2 separate regions of the Homo sapiens genome follow, and region 2 is linked to region 1. The links are contacts of gene promoters, found by promoter capture Hi-C in human tissues and cell types (Jung and others, 2019). All regions are on one chromosome and are shown on one strand. Each heading gives the region's core, a stretch centred on a gene start or on the middle of the fragment in contact. The rest is flanking DNA. Distances are from core to core; before and after follow the strand shown. Region 1 holds the start of BECN1 (beclin 1). Region 2 overlaps PTGES3L-AARSD1 (PTGES3L-AARSD1 readthrough).

Region 1 (4,570 bases), core at 347-2,846:
CACCACTCCTGGCCTTTTTAATTAATTTATTTTTTGAGACAGGGTCTTGCACTGTTGCCCAAGCTGCAGTGCAGTGGCATGATCATAGCTTCCTGCAGCTTTGACCTCCTGGGCTCAAGTGATCCTCCTGCCTCAGCCTCCACCACCCACCACACCCAGCAATTTTTTTTTTTTTTTAGAGACAAGATCTCTGCTAGGTTGCTCAGGTTGGTCTTGAACTCCTGGGCTCAAGCGATCCTCCCACCTCAGCCTCCCAAAGCACTGAGATTACAGGCGTGAGCCATCACATCCAGCAAATTCTTCAGACTTTAAGACTCTACTCCATTTACCAGCTGTTGGACCTTAGGTAAGTCACTTAACCTCTCTGTGCCTCGGTTCTTCATCTGAAAAATGATGTAATGACGGTATACCCCGTACGGGTTGTTACAGGGACTAAATGAAGTAATACGTGTAATGCACTTGGTATTACTATATAGTAAGTCCTCAAAAAATACCATTTATTATTATATATACATATTCCTTTTCTCTGAAACAGCAGGAGCAGAAAATAAGGATCTTTCTTTTGCTACTGAAAGCTCTCTTTTTTTGAGACGGAGCCTCGCTCTGTTGCCCAGGCTGGAGTGCAGTGGTGCGATCTCAGCTCACTGCAAACTCCACCTCACCGGTTCAAGCGATTCTCCTGCCTCAACCTCCCGAGTAGCTGGGACTACAGGCACGTGCCATCACGCCCGGCTAATTTTTGTATTTTTAGTAGAGAGGGGTTTCGCCATGTTGGCCAGGCTGGTCTCGAACTCCTGACCTCAGGTGATCTGCCCGCCTCGGTCTCCCAAAATGCTGGGATTACAGGCGTGAGCCACCGCGCCCGGTCGGAAAGCTCTCAGAAGTCCACAATGTCAGAATGCTTTATGTTTCCAAGGAGAAAACAGGGAGCCAGATGAAGTGACTTTCCTAGGTTCACACGATGAGTTTGTGGCAGACTACACAGCCACCATAAGAATTATATCACCAAAGCTGCCCACCTTCCACATTCTTGACCACCCTCTTTCCAAGGGTCTCGCTGACCTGTGAGTTCCTGGATGGTGACACGGTCCAGGATCTTGAAACTCGTGTCCAGTTTCAGGGGCTGGCTGCAGCGCTGGCACACGAAGCTCACCTGCATGGTGCTGTTGTTGGACGTCTTAGACCCTTCCATCCCTGAGGCCGTGGAAAAGAGGCAACATTAGGGAGAAGCGACGCCCTTGACCTCCGGCCCGGGGTTACCACATGCCTTGGTGACGATGGTAAAGGGAGGGAAGTCCCAACCTGCGCCGTTCCCTCTAGGAATGGTATGATACGGGGAGGACCTGCTTCCGGGACAGCCTGAGCAAAGGCAGTTTAGAGCCCAGGGTCAGGGAAGGGACTCCAATAAGAGCCGTGAGGGTTCCCAGACTCCCTTCTAAGGTCCCACCTCAGCCCCCGATGCTCTTCACCTCGGGAGCCCGGAGCCCGTCACCCAAGTCCGGTCTACCGCGGAGGCACTGTGGCCTCGGGTCGGCCCCGGAGCGAGGCCTCCAGAACTACCATCGCTCTGTCTTCAGCGACTTCCCGGTAGCCGCCGGAAAACTTCCGCCCGAGACCGGACGTGACGCTACGACGGCAGCAGGAGCTCCTGGTCCACAGGCTCACAGGCCCGGCAGCGGCCCCCAGAGGCCGGGCTGGGAAAAGCAGCGGGCTTCAGCGGATGAACAAGGTTACCACGGGAAGTGTAGGAGCCAAGGCCGCAGAGAATGGGGAGGCTCCGCTATTCTCTAAATTCAGGGGGCGGCGGGCGCGGTGGCTCACGCCTGTAATCTCAGCACTTGGGGAGGCCGAGGAGGGCGGATCACGTGAGGTCAGGAGTTCGAGACCAGCCTGGCCAACACAGTGAAACCCCGTCTCTACTAAAAATACAAAAACTAGCCGGGCGTGGTGGGGCACGCCTATAATCCCAGCTTAATCCCAGCTACTCGGGAGGCTGAGGCAGGAGAATCGCTTGAACCTGGGAGGTGGAGGTTGCAGTGAGCCGAGATCGGGCCACTGCACTCCAGCCTGGGCGACAGGGCAAGGCTCCATCTCAGAACAACAACAGCAACAACAAAAGGCCGGGCATGGTGGCTCACGCTTGTAATTCCAGCACTTTGGGAGGCCGAGGCGGGCGGATCACAAGGTCAGGAGTTCGAGACCAGCCTGGCCAAAATGGTTAAATCCCGTCTCTACTAAAAAATACAATTAGCTGGGCATGGTGGCGTGCGCCTGTAATCCCAGCTACTCAGGAGGCTGGGGTAGGAAAATCGCTTGACCCCCGGAGGCGGAGGTTGCAGTGAGTCGAGATCATGCCACTGCACTCCAGCCTGGGCGACAGAAGGAAACTCCATCTCAAACCCCCCCCCCCCACACACACACACAAAACCAACAAAAAAAGAAAGTGATATTCAAATAAAAGCTTGAAGAAGGTGAGGAAGGAATTCTTACCTGCATCTTAAGGAAGAGCATTCTAGGCCAAGGGAACAGCAAGAGCACAGAGGGTACCTGTTTGGGGATTAGCAGAGGCTGGTGTGGCTAGAAGATGGGCAACGAAAAGAGATACAGAAAATGGGGTGAGGGAGGTAAGAGTGTTGAGCTACCACCTAGGCTCTTATAGGGATTGTAAAGCTCTGGCTTTCACTTTGAATGAGATGAGATGACTGGGTCTTGAGCAGAGGGACTTACTTCATTTTTAAAAACAACTTTATGGGGTATAATTTACATACCATAAGACTCACACTTTTTAAATGTACAGTTCAATAATTTTTAGTAAATTTACACAGTTGCCCAACTATCACCATAATCCAGTTTTAGAACATTTCCCATCTCCCCTTGCAATCCCCCACTGTGGCCTCCCAAAGTGCTGAGATTACAGGTGTGAGCCAATGTGCCTGGCCAAAAGTTTTTCATTTCAATAAAGTCCAATGTTTATGCTTTTGGTGTAAAAGAAACCACTGCTTAACCCAAAATTGTATGTAGTATTGTCTATTTTATTTTTATTTTGAGACAGTGTCTTACTCTGTTACCCAGGCTGGAGTGAAGCGGAACAAACAAACATGGCTCACTGCAGATTTGACTTCCTGGCTCAAGCAATCCTCTTGCTTCAACCTCCAGTGTAGCAGGGACCACAGGTGATCACTACCATGCCCAGCTAATTTTTAAAATTTTTTGTAGAGATGTGGTCTCACACTGCACTCCAGCCTCGGTGACAGAGCGAGACGCCATCTCAAAAAAAAAAAGAGATGGGGTCTCACTTTGTTGCCCAGGCTTCTGCTTTTTAAATTTAACATTTTTCTATGTTGCTACACAGTTATTGTAGTTATCATGGCTACATTACACTACACTAAATGTACTGCCTTAGTGTATTTTTTTACCGCTGGAAATTCTACTATTTCCCCTGTGGGTGATTACAATAATCCTGCAATGAAGAGCTGGCTACTTATGATAGAGACTCATAACTGGGACTACAGAATTAAGAGTGTGTCAGCTATTTAATGTCTCTTCCTTAACACTGGGAATCATTTTCCAAAGTGCTTGCACATAACTATATTCTGCTTCCAGTAATGTATGAGGAAGCCTGTTTTCATATTGCCTTGGCCAGTATTGGGTATCATATATTTGGGGAACAAAAGCAAAAAATGGCACTTCCTTGTTATTTTAATTAGCATCATTGATTGCTGGTAAGGCTGAACTTTTTGCTATGTATTTGCTTATTGTAGTTACTTTTTTTTTTTTTTTTGAGATGGAGTCTTGCTCTGTTGCCCAGGCTGGAGTGCAGTGGTGCCATCTCGGCTCACTGCAACCTCTGCCTCCTGGGTTCACGCCATTCTCCTGTCTCAGCCTCCCGAGTAGCTGGGACTACAGGCGCCCACCACTACACCCGGCTAATTTTTTATATTTTTAGTGGAGACGGTTTCACCATGTTAGCCAGGATGGTCTCAATCTCCTGACCTCCTGATCTGCCCGCCTTGGCCTCCCAAAGTGCTGGGATTACAGGTGTGAGCCACCATGCCCGGCCTTTTTTTAAAAAAAAAAAAAAAAAGAGACACGGTCTCACTCTGTCACCCAGGCTGGAGTGCAGTGGTGCAATATCAGCTCACTGGAATCTCCGCCTCCCGGGCTCAAGCAGTAGTTACTTTTTTCTGAATTATGTTTGCATTCTTTGATTATTTAGGTATTGGATTATTAGTATTTTTCTCAGTATTTTTAGTAATTTTTCATGAATGCTTTAATTATTTTCCAGATGTTCAGGAAGTTTTAAATTTTCAAGTCAAATCTGCTTATTTTTCTTGATGACTTATACTGCTTAGAAAGTTATTCCCACCTCCAGAAGTGTCTTTCTTTTCTTTTAAATGTATGTGGTTTCTTATAGTTGGTATTGGATGTGATATGTGGAACTAGATTGATTTTTCTCCCGGTTTTGTGACTAGGGATAGTGTTTACAATCCTTCTTCCTCTTGGCTCTTTCAGCATGAAAGCCCCTTTAGGGGAGGTGACTGGAATCATCCCCAAAGAATTCTCACCTAGT
Region 2 (5,198 bases), core at 1,310-3,809, 120 kb after region 1:
TTTCTCCTATCTTGGCCAACCAAGGTGGCTCAGGCCTGTAATCCCAGAACTTCGGGAGGCCAAGGCAGGAAGATCACTTGAGCTCAAGAGTTCAAGACAAGCCTAGGCAACATGGCAAGACCCTGTCTCCACAAAAGTAGAAAAAGTAGCCAGGTGCGGTGGTGTGTGCTTGTAGTCCCAGCTACTCAGGAGGCTGAAGTGGGAGGATCGCTTGAGCCCAGGAAAGTCGAGGCTGCAATGAGACAAGATTTCCATTGCACTCCAGCCCAGGAAACAGAGTAAGACCTTGTCTAAAAAAAAAAAAAAAGCAAACAAGCCCACAAGCAGACAAAAAAAAAAAAAAAAAATCAAAAAACTTATTCCTCCTATCTAACTAAAAGTGTGTATCCTTTGACCAACAACTCCTCAACCCCTCTCCCTCCTCCAAACTCTTGGCTTTGAGGTTGGTGTTTTAAAATGAACAGGGATATTTACTAACAGGCCTCTGCCACAGGTCACTTCTGCAGGGAGTTTATGGCTCAGCAAAAGAGAAAGCTGTCCCTGTGAGAGCCTCTTCTGCTCCAGACACAACTCCAGGTCAGTTAACTAAGTCCTACTTATTCCTTAGTTTGAAGCCTGGCACTCTGCCTGTAGTATTTTGCACAGAAGATACAGACCTTTCTAAAGAAAGAAGGAAATTCCTCCATCACTCGTTCCCAAACATCCCTACTTGCCCTCTGTTGAGAACACTAGTCATAGTTTGGATCAAATTCAGGAAAGGAATGGGAGACAGAGACGCTTTCTGAAAAAGATTTTTTTCATTAGGGCAAACACTGTCTGTTTTCCTTTTGGTACCAGGTTTTAAATAAACCCTAGAGTTTATTTAAGTTCTCATTCAGGGACAGATCTGGCATTCTAGCACAGCTTGGCCGACTCACTGGTTTCCACTCAGGACTCCAAGGCAGGGTGGAGCACAGGACACTGGCACAATGCCTTCCTGAATTCAGTCTGTGTGTGTTTGTTGTTGTTGTTGTTGTTGTTGTTGTTTTTGAGACGGAGCTTTGCTCTTGTTGCCTAGGCTGGATGGAGTGCAACGGCGCGATCTTGGCTCACTGCAACCTCCGCCTCCCGGGTTCAAGCAATTCTCCTACCTCAGCCTCCAGAGTAGCTGGGATTGCAGGCATGCGCCACCACACTTGGCTAATTTTGTATTTTTAGTAGAGGCGGGGTTTTTCCCATGTTGGTCAGGCTGATCTCAAACTCCCGACCTCAGGTGATCCACCTGCCTCAGCCTCCCAAAGTGTTGGGATTACAGGCATGAGCCACAGCGCCGGCCCTGAATTCAGTCTGTCTACTGCTCTGGGTCTCTTCCACCTGATACCTTTCATCTTTCATACTAACATCTGTTCTAGTACCTACATGCATCACCTTAGTGGAAGCTACAGCAGCTGTCTTCAGCAATTTATGGGTACGCACATAAAAAAATTTCCTTAGAAGCCAAGGAGTCCCCCTTACTATTTCTGTGCCGTAAAGTGGGTTATAGTAACATTCCAGAATATATAACCTGTGTGTGTACCTAAAACTTGATTACTCCAATAAATGAACTCATTTTGTTTCCTGGTGAACCTCATAAAAGACAATCCACCCCTTCCCCTGAACACACTCTGTTCTTCTCCCCCTCTCCCTGGGGCATTGGATTAGGGCCTCAGTGACAGGCAAGAATGACATCACCAGTTCAAAAACTGCTGCTTTATTTTCTCTTTCTTTATACAACCAATTACCATTTTCACATAATTTGCTCAAGTGTTTATGGCTTTTCTTAATTATTTCATAAGGTTCCTTCCTTCTTAGGACACCCAGTTCATGTGTCCATTTTCAGGTCAAGAAACTGAAGCTCAGGGAGTCTCAGCAGGGGGACCAGACATCCAGGCTACCTTAACACCGTCTGGGTTTCTGACTGTTGTTCTGGCATGAGGTTTGCCTAACTCTGGATATTAAAATTACATGGTTGCTCTAGGTCTAAGTGACAAGAACCCACCTGAGTGGTAGTGAGCAAGAGTGGCCTCCCAGGTCACTGTTCTTGTTGTTGCACCTGTGTTCTGAATCTTTGTGTACCCCTAAAAATTCATATGTTGAAATCCTAACCCCCTAAGTGGTATCAGGAGGTGGGCCCTTTAGCAGGTGATTAGGTCACGGGGGCAGAGCCTTCGTGAATGAAATTAGTGCATTATAAAAGAGGCCCGAGAGGGCTGGGTGCGGAGGCTCATGCCTGTAATCCCAGCACTTTGGGAGGCTGAGGCAGGCGGATCACCTGAGGTCAGGAGTTCGAGACCAGCCTGGCCAACATGGTGAAACCCCATCTCTACTAAAAATACAAAATATTAGCTGGGTGGGATGGCAGGCGCCTGTAATCCCAGCTACTCGGGAGGCTGAGGCAGGAGAATCACTTGAACCTAGGGGGTGGAGGTTGCAGTGAGCTGAGATTGCACCATTGCACTTCAGCCTGAGCAACAAGAGTGAAACTCCATCTGTCTCAAAAAAAAAAAAAAAAAAAAAAGGCCCAAGAAAGACCCCTTACCCTTTGCACCAAGGGTGCAAAAAGATGGCTATTCCTGAACCAGTATTTGAACCTTCACACCAGACACTGAATTTGCCAGCTTCCCAGCCTCCACTGTGAGAAATACATTTTTGTTGTTTATAAGCTACCTAGTTTTTGTTATTATAGCAGTCAGATCAGACTAAGGCACACCCTAAAGAAACAAACACAGAGAGGGACAGAGATCTCACACAGAGACAAATTCACATGGGTCTCTGTTCAAGATCCTGCCTGAGTCCTTCTACAAAAGTAAGGAAGCTTCTGTGAAGCAAACATTTCCCTTTCTCCCACTAATGGACCCATTTTGTATAGCATGAGTGTTACACTATGGTTTTATCTAAAACATGGCACTCTGAGAAAAGCAAGATGCAGAAGAGTATACAATGTGCTACCATTTATGTTTAAAAAGAGGGAAGATTTATGTACATCTATTTTTTAAAATACTACCAGAGGGATATATAAGAAATTGGTAACAGGCTGGGCATGGTGGCTCACGCCTGTAATCCCAACACTGGGAGGCCAAAGTGGACAAATTGCTAGAGCCCAGGAGTTCAAGACTAGTGTGGGCAACACGGCAAAGCACTGTCTCTAGAAAAAATACAAAAAATTAGCCAGGTGTGGTGGTGCACACCTCTAGTCCCAGCTACTCAGAGGGCTGAGGTGGGAGGATCACCTGTTCCCAGGAGGTTGAGACTGCAGTAAGCCATGATTGTGCCACTGCATTCCAGCCTGGGCAACAGAGTGAGACTATATCTGGAAAAAAAAAAAAAAAAAAGGCCAGGCATGGTGGCTCATACTTGTAATCCCAGCACTTTGGGAGGCCGAGGCCGGCGGATTACCTGAGGTCAGGAGCTCGAGACCAGCCTGGCCAACATGGTGAAACCCCATCTCTACTAAAAATACAAAATTAGCCGGGCATGGTGGCACATGCCTGTAATCCCAGCTACTCGGTAGGCTGAGGCAGGAGAATTGCTTGAACTCGGGAGGCGGAGGTTGCAGTGAGCGGAGACTGCGCCATTGCACTCCAGCCTGGGCAACAAGAGCGAAACTCCATCTAAAACAAAAAAATTAAGTGATTGATTCTGGAGAAAGAAATTGGGTAACTCAGTGGCAGGGTTGAAGGAAATTTTTGGTAGCACACACCTGTAATCCCAGCTACTTGGGTGGCTGAGGCACAAGAATTGCTTGAACCCAGGAAGCGGAGGTTGCAGTGAGCCAAAATCATGCCACTGCACTCCGGCCTAGGTGGCAGAACAAGACTCTTATCTCCAAAAAAAAAAAAAGTTCCTTTCAGAGTCGGAAGAACAAATAGCTGAACACAGCCACAGCCACAGCCACAGGTTATCTCCCCTGGATGTCAGCTTTTGTATTTCTCCTCTGTTATTTCATCCTGGCTGTCTAGGCCTTAACCATCTTTGTTCTAGCTAAAGCTGTGACTGGATCTTTGTTTTATCACCTTTCCTGGATGTGCAAATCCAGTATTTCTACCCAGGTCTGTGAAACTTCAAAGCCTGTGCTCCTGAACATATTATGCTTCCATTTGCTCTATCACTAATGAAAGATGAGCTTAAGTCTTCCGTTGATTACAGATTTGTCCGTTTCTCCCTTGAGATCTGTCAATGTCTGCTTTATGTATTTTGAGGCTGTTATTAGATGCATACAAATTTAGAACTGTTATATTTTTCATCATTACACGTCCCTCTTAATCTCTGATTCTTACTTTAACCCTTTTCCTGTTTGCCCTGAGAATACTCGCCAGTGATGCTTGCAACTGCAGCACTTACCCCAAGAAGGTGACAATGCTGTCAACATTCCACAGTGATACTGTGATTGAAGTAGACAACAGAAATGGAAAGAAAACTAAGAAGCCAGCTGGGCACAGTGGCTCATGCCTGTAATCCCAACACTTTGGGAGGCCAAGGTGGGCGGATCACGAGGTCAAGAGGTGGAGACCATCCTGGCCAACATAGTGAAACCCCATCTCTACTAAAAATACAAAAATTAGCTGGCATGGTGGTGCGAGCCTGTAGTTCCAGCTACTCGGGAGGCTGAGGCAGGAGATTAGTTTGAACCTGGGAGGTAGAGGTTGCAGTGAGCCAAGATCGCACCACCGCACTCCAGCCTGGTGACAGAGCGAGACTCCATCTCAAACAAAAACAAAAAACAAAAACAAAAAAATCAGCCAGGCATGGTGGCACACACCTGTAATCCTGGCTACTCTGGAGGCTGAGGCAGGAAAATCCCTTCAACCCGGGAGGCAGAGGTTGCAGTGAGCTGAGATCACACCACTATATCCAGCCTGGGCAACAAAGCAAGAGTCCATCTCAGGGGGTGGGGCGGTAGGGGCGGGAAAAAGCCATGTGCCTTTGTGGATTATAACAAAATTATGGGAGCAGTGGACTCAGCTGATCAGATGTTCATTTCTTATCCAACTGAGTGCAAAAGCACAAGGTTTGGTATAAATTAATCCACCACCTTCTAAACATTACAGTGCATGAACTAAATTAGAAAATTATCTATTTATAAACGGAAAGTAACCACACAAGCACAATGGAGTATACAGTACGAATTAGTCATATAAATACAAGTGGTAGCGCAACCATTCTGAGTCAATCTATTTTAT

The links. The method cuts DNA at HindIII sites, captures the fragments that hold promoters and counts their contacts. A contact is called where the count stands out against the background at its distance.
Region 2: a contact is called between a fragment that was not itself captured here and the fragment with the promoter of BECN1 in region 1, in 8 of the 25 tissues and cell types used here (H1 embryonic stem cells, IMR-90 fibroblasts, aorta and 5 more).

The regions. Positions count from the first base shown.
Region 1 is chr17:42,822,686-42,827,255 of GRCh38, forward strand. BECN1 (beclin 1) reads right to left here and starts at 1,597. Exons shown (of 12, transcript NM_001313998.2): 1 at 1,470-1,597; 2 at 1,063-1,194. The coding sequence starts at 1,192. It overlaps MIR6781 (microRNA 6781), which reads right to left and starts at 1,258; the gene lies at 1,195-1,258. RefSeq lists enhancers at 824-1,390, 1,391-1,959, 1,826-1,955, 1,960-2,526. The HindIII fragment of the contact is 8,869 bases long and covers 1-4,570 here.
Region 2 is chr17:42,945,349-42,950,546 of GRCh38, forward strand. PTGES3L-AARSD1 (PTGES3L-AARSD1 readthrough) reads right to left here. Exons shown (of 17, transcript NM_001136042.2): 17 at 5,178-5,198. It overlaps AARSD1 (alanyl-tRNA synthetase domain containing 1), which reads right to left. Exons shown (of 12, transcript NM_001261434.2): 12 at 5,178-5,198. Among named protein-coding and RNA genes, the nearest start is that of AARSD1, 17 kb to the right of the region's middle. The HindIII fragment of the contact is 8,985 bases long and covers 1-5,198 here.